Linked DNA regions of Homo sapiens: regions 1 and 2 are each linked to region 3. The links are contacts of gene promoters, found by promoter capture Hi-C in blood cells and fetal thymus (Javierre and others, 2016). All regions are on one chromosome and are shown on one strand. The core of a region is centred on a gene start or on the middle of the fragment in contact, and the rest is flanking DNA. Distances in the headings are between cores, read along the strand shown.

The links. Contacts are between HindIII fragments. The CHiCAGO score rates a contact against its expected background, and 5 or more counts as called.
Region 1: a fragment that was not itself captured here is called in contact with the fragment with the promoter of TTC12 in region 3 in 4 of 17 cell types (total CD8 T cells, naive B cells, non-activated CD4 T cells and 1 more); the score reaches 10.8 in total CD8 T cells.
Region 2: a fragment that was not itself captured here is called in contact with the fragment with the promoter of TTC12 in region 3 in 3 of 17 cell types (monocytes, naive B cells and total CD4 T cells); the score reaches 5.7 in monocytes.

The regions. Positions count from the first base shown.
Region 1 is chr11:112,299,214-112,302,380 of GRCh38, reverse strand. All of the region lies in intron 2 of LINC02762 (long intergenic non-protein coding RNA 2762), which reads right to left. Among named protein-coding and RNA genes, the nearest start is that of LINC02762, 30 kb to the right of the region's middle. The HindIII fragment of the contact is 241 bases long and covers 1,342-1,582 here.
Region 2 is chr11:112,242,578-112,245,388 of GRCh38, reverse strand. No RefSeq gene overlaps it. Among named protein-coding and RNA genes, the nearest start is that of PLET1, 17 kb to the left of the region's middle. The HindIII fragment of the contact is 7,112 bases long and covers 1-2,811 here.
Region 3 is chr11:113,313,044-113,315,848 of GRCh38, reverse strand. It overlaps TTC12 (tetratricopeptide repeat domain 12), which reads right to left and starts at 1,266. Exons shown (of 22, transcript NM_017868.4): 1 at 1,231-1,266. It overlaps TTC12-DT (TTC12 divergent transcript), which reads left to right and starts at 1,393. Exons shown (of 5, transcript NR_199709.1): 1 at 1,393-1,519. RefSeq lists silencers at 896-995, 888-1,182, 1,206-1,455. The HindIII fragment of the contact is 13,389 bases long and covers 1-2,805 here.

The DNA of each region.
Region 1 (3,167 bases), core at 213-2,712, 1.0 Mb after region 3:
TTAGAAGGCAGTGCTGAGCTCCAGTGGGGCTGTTTGCTCTGAAAGACAAGAATGAATCAGATGGAACGATCAGGCAGCAGCTGAAATATTGTCACTCTTGAAAGTAAACACAGTGGCAAAGATGTGGTGTTCAACATTTTATGTACTTAACAACTGACTAAACTGTACTAAATGAGACCAAAATATGAAGAGAACCAAGCAAATAGTGTTCCAGATGTAAGAAGTGATACAATCCTGCCAATATGCCTACAAAGTTCTGTTAATTTTGTTTTATACCTATATTTGTCTTTATATTTATATATGAATTAAATTCCACAGTAATAATTATTTCAGGCCAGGCACGGTGGCTCATGCCTATAATCCTAGCACTCTAGGAGGCCAAGGTGGGTGGATCACTTGAGCTCAGGAGTTTGAGACCAGCCTGGGCAACATGATGAAACTCTGTCTCTAAAAAAAATACAAAAAAAAAAAAAAATTAGCCAAGCGTGGGCCTGGCTGTCCCAGCTACTTGGGGGGCTGAGGTAAGAGGATTGCTTGAGCACAGGTGGTCGAGGCTACAGTGAGCTGATTGCACCGCTGCACTCCAGCCTGTTTGACAAAGTGAGACCCTGTCTCAAAAAAAATAAATAAATAAAAATAAATTATTATTTCAGGCTGAATTATTAAAGAATCCTAAAATCAGAGGGCAGAATATGATGAGAAACAGGATATCTAGAAAGCATCTCTCCACAAAATGCTTTACTAAAGTAAAAATAGTAACTTTATGGTAGAGAAATCTGGCAGTCCCCACCTTAAACAGGAAGTCAAAGTCATCACCAATAATAAAACAAATCGATGATGTGCTCCTTAATATGATGCTCTGGGAAAGACACAACATCACTTCTGTGATATTCTTGCCAAAAATGTATGACCTGGATTTAGATCTCAAAGAAACATGACATAAACCCAAATTAAGGACGTTCTAGATGATAACTGGGCAGTATTTTTCAAAAATGTCAAGGTAATGAGAGACAAGGAAAAATTAAAGAACTATCGCAGATTATAGGAGACTAAGGGGACGTGAGAGCCAAAGGCAATGTGTGGCCCTGGGCTGGATCCTGGACGAGAAAAGGACAGTATTGGGAAAACTGGCAAAACTCGAATTAGGGCTACAGATTATATCATAGTATCTTATCAATGTTAATTTCCTGATTTTGATCATCATACTCTAAGTTATATAAGATGGTAACATTTGGGGGAATCTGGGTTAAAGAGTGTATGGAAATTCTTTGTACTATTTTTGCAACTTTTTTTAAAAAACTGAAATTAATTCAAAATGAAAAGTTAAAAATAAATAAAGCTTTAAGTGAATTAGAGGATCTCAATTTAGCAGTTATAAGGATGAGGGGAGAGGACTCTTCTTCTGCAAAGCCCTTACTCCCCATTCTCAGATAAAAAGAATTTTGGTAACTGTGAGACATAATAGAACTATCACAAATGTATGAATCTAGCTATATAAATAAAGCAGCATACGTCACCATTCTTTTTTTCCCCTGTAATTGTGTAAAATCTGCAAATTTTTCAAGATAGACAACTACAAGCTTTAGAGCTACAAGAGCTGGTATAAAGTAAGGTGGAGTGCTGTTTCCCATCCGGTAAGACAGGGCCAACACCGTCACTGGGAAGCCAGGAGACTTTGGCTGAGTTTCTCTTAGCTCCGTCTCTTCCTCCGTGAAATGGATTCATCTTAATGCCTGCACTAAGAGATGTGAAAGGGCAGTGCAAAAAGCGTCACTGTCCTCCTACTGCACAGCAGCGCATGGCAATGCTGCCACCGTTCTAAGGAGCATGTCGGGCACTGTGCCACAGCTTGCCTGGTTGGAGGGGACAGTGAGCTAAGTAACCAGTCTCTGGGACAGCCGTATCTAAGGTCTCTAGCCTCAGTCTCCATCCCTCACCCTGTGGTTTCCTCATCCCACTGAGCAAGGCGTGGGATGGGCAAGAGTCCACCGCAAGGGACCAGACAAGCTCCACGGCCCATTATTTGGGACTTCAAGCTGCCAGCTCCCTGCAGCCTCCCCAGTCCACTTTCACGTTCTCATCAGCATACTCCCCGCTGTCAGGCTGCTTTACTGGAGGCACGATTTACATTACACATCAACAACCTAGTGCCACAGGCAGCAAAGGCAGAGACTCATGATGGGCAGTGCCTGGGTCTGGCAGATGATGAGATGGGTGAGCTTGGGCCCCTCAGGACTCTTTTGCATGGAGAGTCGGTGGGAGCCTGCTGGTGTGTCCGTTCCATCCCACGCCTCAACCACAGGGAAATCTCATTCATTCCCCAACCACTCTACTCACCCTGCTGCCACCAGCTCCTTCTTGATCCACTAGGGCACAAAAAAAAAATTGCTTTTTGCTCTTGAGGAAGATGCAAAAGCCTATAGTTCCTGCAGGCCCCACATTCCCTCGCTCACAGGGCAGGGGCTAGACAGGCAGCATTTGTTAGTGTCTCCCATCAAAGTCACTTTCTGACCTGGCTGTTCATCTCTAACCTGCCTGTTCCTGTTTGCCAGTCTGTCCTCCAACGGCAAATGGAGAGCAGCGAGGCTGCCTTTCAGCCCTCTGGGTGCTGCTTTCCCTCCCCTAAACATCTAAGAAGACAGGTGTTCATTGAGCCCCTCTTCTCTGTCAAACCAGCAATAACTCTCTCAAAGAAACCTGCAAAAGGGGCCCACATGCCTGTAATCCCAGCACTTTGGAAGGCCAAGGCAGGTGGATCACTTGAGGTCAGGAGTTCGAGACCAGCCTGGCCAACATAGTAAAACCCCATCTCTACTAAAAATACAAAAATTATCCAGGCGTGGTGGCATGCACTTATAGTCCCAGCTATTTTGGAGGCTGAGGCAGGAGAATCGCTTGAACCTGGGAGGTGGAGGTTGCAGTGAGCCGAGATGGCACCACTGCACTCCAGCCGTCAGAGTGAGACTCCATCTCAAAAAAAAAAAAAAAAAGAAAAGAAAAGAAACCTGCAAAAGGTTTCAAAGTTCAACAAATAGGAATGCAAGTTCTGGTCCTAGAGCCTGCTTGCTGTGCATTCTTGGGTGAGTCATTACCCTTTCTGATTTCAATTACCTAACCGGTACCATAGAGAAAATCATGTGTACCTTGCAGGGTTGTTCTGTGGCTCA
Region 2 (2,811 bases), core at 99-2,598, 1.1 Mb after region 3:
GTACAGAACTTTTATTTCTTTGGTTAGATTGATTCCTAGGTATTTTATATTTTTTGCAGCTATTGTAAATGGGATTACTTTCTTGATTTTTCAGATTGTTCACTGTTGGCACATATAAATGCTACTGATTTTTGTATGTTGATTTTGTAACCTGCAACTTTACTGAATTTGTTTTATGTTCTATCAGTTTTTTGGTGGAGTTTTTAGGTCTTTCTAAGTAATAAGATCATGTCCTCTTCAAACAAGGTTAACTTGACTTCTTCCTTTACAATTTGGATGCCCTTTTATTCTTTCTTTGCCTAGTTGCTCTGACCAGGACTTCCAGTATCATGTTGAATAAAAGTGGTAAAAGTGGGCAATTCTTATCTTGTACCAGTCTTTAGAGAAAAGGCCTTCAAATTTTCCCCTTTCGGTCTGATGTTAGCCATGAGTTTGACATAGATGGCCTTTAATAATTTGAGGTATGTTCCTTCTATATCCATTTTGATGAGGGTTTTTATGATAAAGGGATGAATTTTATCAAATACTTTTTGACATCTATTGAAAAAATTATATGGTTTTTGTTATTGATTCTGCTAATATGGTACATCATGTTTATTTCTGTAAATTTAATCATTTTTGAAGCATCCCTGGGATGAGTCCCACTTGATCATAGTCAATGATCCTTTGATGTATTATAGGATTCACTTTGCTAGTGTTTTGTTGAGGATTTTTGCATGTATGTTCATCAGTGATATTCGTCTGTAGTTTTCTTTTGTTGTGTGTCCTTGTCTAGTTTTGGTATCAGGGTAACGCTGACCTTATGGGTCTGGAAGTATTCCCTCTTCTTCAGTTTTTTTTTTTTTTTTTGAAGAGTTTGAGTAGGATTGATATTAGCTCTTCTTTAAATGTTAGTTTGAATTCTCCTGTGAATCCATCAGGTCCTAGGCTTTTCCTTGATGGAAGACATTTTATTATACCTTTGATCTCATTACTAGCTATTGGTTTGTTGAGGTTTTCTATTTCTTCACAATTCACTCTTGGTATGTTGTACATAGAATAGAAGATGAAAAGTATAATTTCATTTCTTCATTTATTCATTTCTTCCAGGTTTTCCAATTTATTAGTTTATGCTTGTTCATAATAGTCTCTAATGATTCTTCGTATTTCTGAAGTCTCAGTCGTTATGTCTCCTTTTTTCATTTCTGATTTTATTCATTTGGGTCTTCTCACGTTTCTTCTTAGTCTAGCTAAAGGTTTATCAGTTTTGTTTATCTTTTCAAAAAACCAACTTCTCATTTTGTTGATCTTCTGTATTTTTTGGCTCAATTTCGCTTATTTCTTCTCTGATCTTTATTATTTCTTTCCTTCCACCTATTTTGGGTTTGGTTTGTTCTTGCTTTTCTAGTTCCTTGAGGTGCATTATTGGGTTGTTTCTTTGGAATATTTCTACTTTTTTGTTATAAGTGTTTTTGCTATAAACTTCCCTCTTAGTACTGCTTTTGCCATACCCTATAGATTTTGGTATGTTGTATTTCCATTTTCATTTGCTTCAAGAAATTTTTAAATTTCCTTCTTAATTTCTTCATTGACCCCTTGGTCAAGGAGCATGTTGTTTAATTCCATGTGTATGCATATTTTCCAAGGTTCCTCTTGTTATTGATTTCTAGTTTTATTACATTATGTTCAGAGAAGATACTTTACCCTATCTCTTCCAAAAAAAATGCAAAAATTTAGCTAGGTGTGGTGGTGTGAACTTGAGTCCCAGCTACCTGGGAGACTGAGGCAGGAGGATCACCTGAACCCAAGGAGATCAAGGCTGAAGTGAGCTGTGATTGTGTCACTGCATTCCAGCCTGGGAGATAGTGAGACTCTGTCTCAAAAGAAAAAGGGCAGGATGGGGGAGGGGACAAAAAGCATTCTTAGTTTAAGAATAGGTTTTGCTTTAAAAATCATAGTACACTCATAAATTCTTGCTGAAATCAATAATTACACAAGAGAATAACAATACTAATAGCCTGTCGTAAATTGACCCCAAGTCTTTTTAATAAAGCACACTTTTTTTTAATTATACTTTAAGTTCTGGGATACACATACAGAATGTGGTTTGTTACGTAGGTATACATGTGTCATGGTGGTTTGCTGCACCCATCAACCCAGCATCTATATTAGGTATTTCTCCTAATGCTGTCCCTCCTCCTGCCCCCTGACAGGCCCCAGTGTGTGATGTTCCCCTCCCTTTGTCCATGTGTTCTCATTGTTCAACTCCCACTTATGAGTGAGAACATGTGGTGTTTGGTTTTCTGTTCCTGTGTTAGTTTGCTGAGAATGATGGTTTCCAGCTTCATCCACGTCCCCGCAAAGGACATGAACTCATTCTTTTTTATGGCCACATAGTATTCCATGGTGTATATGTGCCACATTTTTTTTATCCAGTCTATCATTGATGGGCATTTGAGTTGGTTCCAAGTCTTTGCTATTGTAAATAGTGCTGCAATAAACATACGATAAAGCACATTATTCTTAGCCCTTATGTAATCAAAAATCAGGTTCAGTCACATGCCACTTACAGAGTCCAGTTAACAAGAGCAAGATCTGGTATAAAGAAAGTGACTTTTGGCTGGGCACGGTGGCTCATGCCTGTAATCCCAGCACTTTGGAGGCCGAGGTGGGCGGATCATGAGGTCAGGAGATCGAGACCATCCTGGCTAACACGGTGAAACCCCATCTCTACTAAAAATACAAAAAATTAGCAGGACGTGGTGGCGGGTGCCTGTAGTCCCAGCTACTCAGGAGGCTGAGGCAGGAGAATGGCGTGAACCCGGGAGGCGG
Region 3 (2,805 bases), core at 17-2,516:
AAATGTGGATGTGTGACAGGTAACAAACTTGGGGCAATTTGCATCTAAATGTCCATACTTGTTTAAAATCTGCCTTTGGCTTGTTTCTGAAGAGTGAAGAAAGGGTACAAATTGACTGAAGGGATTAGAACATAATGTTACCATGCTCACCAGCGTCTCTTCTGCTCTAGGTACCTCAGATATTATTTTACAGTTGTTTTTGTGCGAGAAGGCCCCGTGGTGTACCCAGCAGTACTCAGTGGTTCATCCACAGATCATAAAAATCATCGGGAAGATTGTTAAATATACAGCTTCCTCAGCCGTAGCCCGAGATTTCAAGTCAGTAAACCCGGGACATTGCCCAGACACGAATATAGATTTTAAACACTTTCCAGGTGATTCTCATTTATGGCCAGGTTTCATAGTAGTGTAACACGCTTCTAACACGTAATCTGCCACGAACAAACTACGAGTGATTTAATCGAGTCTCAGTGTCCTCATCTCCACCAGTTACAAGCTGTGTGATTCTGGCTAAATTCACAACCTCTCCGAGCCTCAGAGTCCTCACCCATACTATGGGAACAGTAAGAGAGAAACTACGAGGACTATTCTGGGGACTGATGTAAAGCACCAGGCACGCGACGAGTCCTCACCGTGAAGCACCCTTACCTATATAAAACAGGGGGTGGGGTTGCGGCTTAACTGAATAATCGCTAGGGTTTCTTCCAGGTCAAATCTTTTCAACTCCCACGGAACAGAGGCCTAGTCCAGTGAATTAATCTGCCCAACGGTATGAAGGTTAGAAGGCAGGCGCGCGGGTGCATGGACAGGAGACAACCTCTGTCTCCCAGGGCATGGATCTCAGGGTCCTCACTGCCTGGCCAGTGCCCCCCTACGCTAGGGTGAGAGGGCCAGAGCCAGGTGATGGCGAAGCGGCGCCGCGCTCAGTGCTTCACTCGGTAGGGCTGCGGCAGCGGGGACCTGTGCCCGAGCCCCGCGCGGAGCCTGCCCCAGACGCGCGCTGCCCGCCGGGCGCAAAGAGGCCAGGCCGCACGCACTGTTGCCCAGCAACCGCTCCCAGGCGTCCGCAAGTCCCGGGCCCTCCATGCAGGTCCCAGACCGCAGCCGTCCCAGACCGCAGCCAAGACCTTCCCATGCTCTGGGGCCCAAAGCAGCGTCCTCTGCTCGGCTCTGAAGGCCAGTGCAGGACCAGCTCCCAGGGGGGATTCCGGGGTACCCCGCGGCACCGACCTGATTCGCCCAGCTTTGGACAGGAAATGGCGCAGTGACCTGCCTGGGCTGGGGCGGGGCCAGGAGCCAGGGGCCCGGGGCGGGACCAAGGGCGGGGCCAGGAGCCAGGGCCCGGGGCGGGACCAAGGACGGGGTCAAAAGCCAGGAGGCGGGACAGGGGGCGGGCATGGACACGCGATCAGATTCGCTACCGCAGAGCTCTAGCTCCGGAGCGCGCCAAGTTGAAGGCCAAAGTCGAGGTTGGGATGCCCGATGCCTGGCGCGGGGAGACGGAGGAAGCAAAGTGCTGGTAACTAAAGCAGCGCCTGCTGCTCGCCTTTTTTCTACTGAAGAAGGGTTGTCTCACTCCCGTTAGCTTAATATCCTTGCCCAAAATGTAAAGTCTCCAGTGTACTTGTGAATCCGGTTTTGTTCATTGATAAATGTGTGAGTTAGAAGACTCACACATTTATCCTTAGGAAAGTTATTTGAGTAACCTTTTTAATCCTCAGTTTTCTCACCTGTGAAATGGAGAAATGGCACTTTCTCATAAGGTTTATGGTTAAAGTGCTGTAACCGCCCAATAGGTTCACCTTGCTCACTGCCTAAACAGAGTCGATTTATCAAGACAGGGGAATTGCAATAGAGAAAGAGTAATTCACACAAAGCTGGCTGTGAGGGAGACCGGAGTTTTATTATTACTCAAATCAGTCTCCCTAGCTTTCAGGGATCAGAGTTTTTAAGGATAATTTGGTGGGTAGGGGTCAGTGAGTCGGGAGTGCTGATTGGTAGGCTAGGAGATGAACTCACAGGGAGTCAAAGCTGTCCTCTTGTGCTGAGTCAGTTGCCAGGTGGGGGTCATAAGACCAGATGAGCCAGTTTATTCATCTGGGTGGTGCCAGCTGATCCATCGAGTGCAGTGTCTGTGAAATATCTTAAGCACTGATCTTAGGTTTTACAATAGTTGATGTTATCCCCAGGAGCAATTTGAGGTTTAGAATCTTGCAGCCTCTAGCTGCATGACTCCTAAACCATAATTTCTAATTTTGTGGCTAATTTGTTAGTCCTGAAAAGGCAGTCTAGTTCCTGGGCAAGAAGGGGGTTTGTTTGGGAAAGGGCTGGTATTGTCTTTGTTTCAAAGCTACACTATAAACTAAGTTCCCCCCAAAGTTAGTTTGGCCTATGCCTAGGAATGAACAAAGACAGCTTGGAGATGAGAAGCAAGATGGAGTCGGTTAGGTCAGATCCCTTTCACCATCTCAGTTATAATTTTGCAATGGTGGTTTCAGTGCCTGGTACCTAGTCAGTAGGAACAGGTGGCACGTGACATCCGGGGAATCATAGGGTTTAGAACAGAATGAGCTAATAGGCACATTCATTCATGCCCCAAATACATGCACACAGCCCTAAAGAAATTTCAGTCTGTTTTTCTAAACAAAATCTCAGAGTATTATGTGCAGGGTTACCAATGGAAAAAAAGCAGGTTTAGGGGAAACTTGAGCTTAAGTTCACGGTCAGAAACACCCGGAACTTCTTGGCAAATGAGTGCTTTATGGAAACCTGTTTGGCAGGGAACAAGGAGCCCCTAGAGATGGA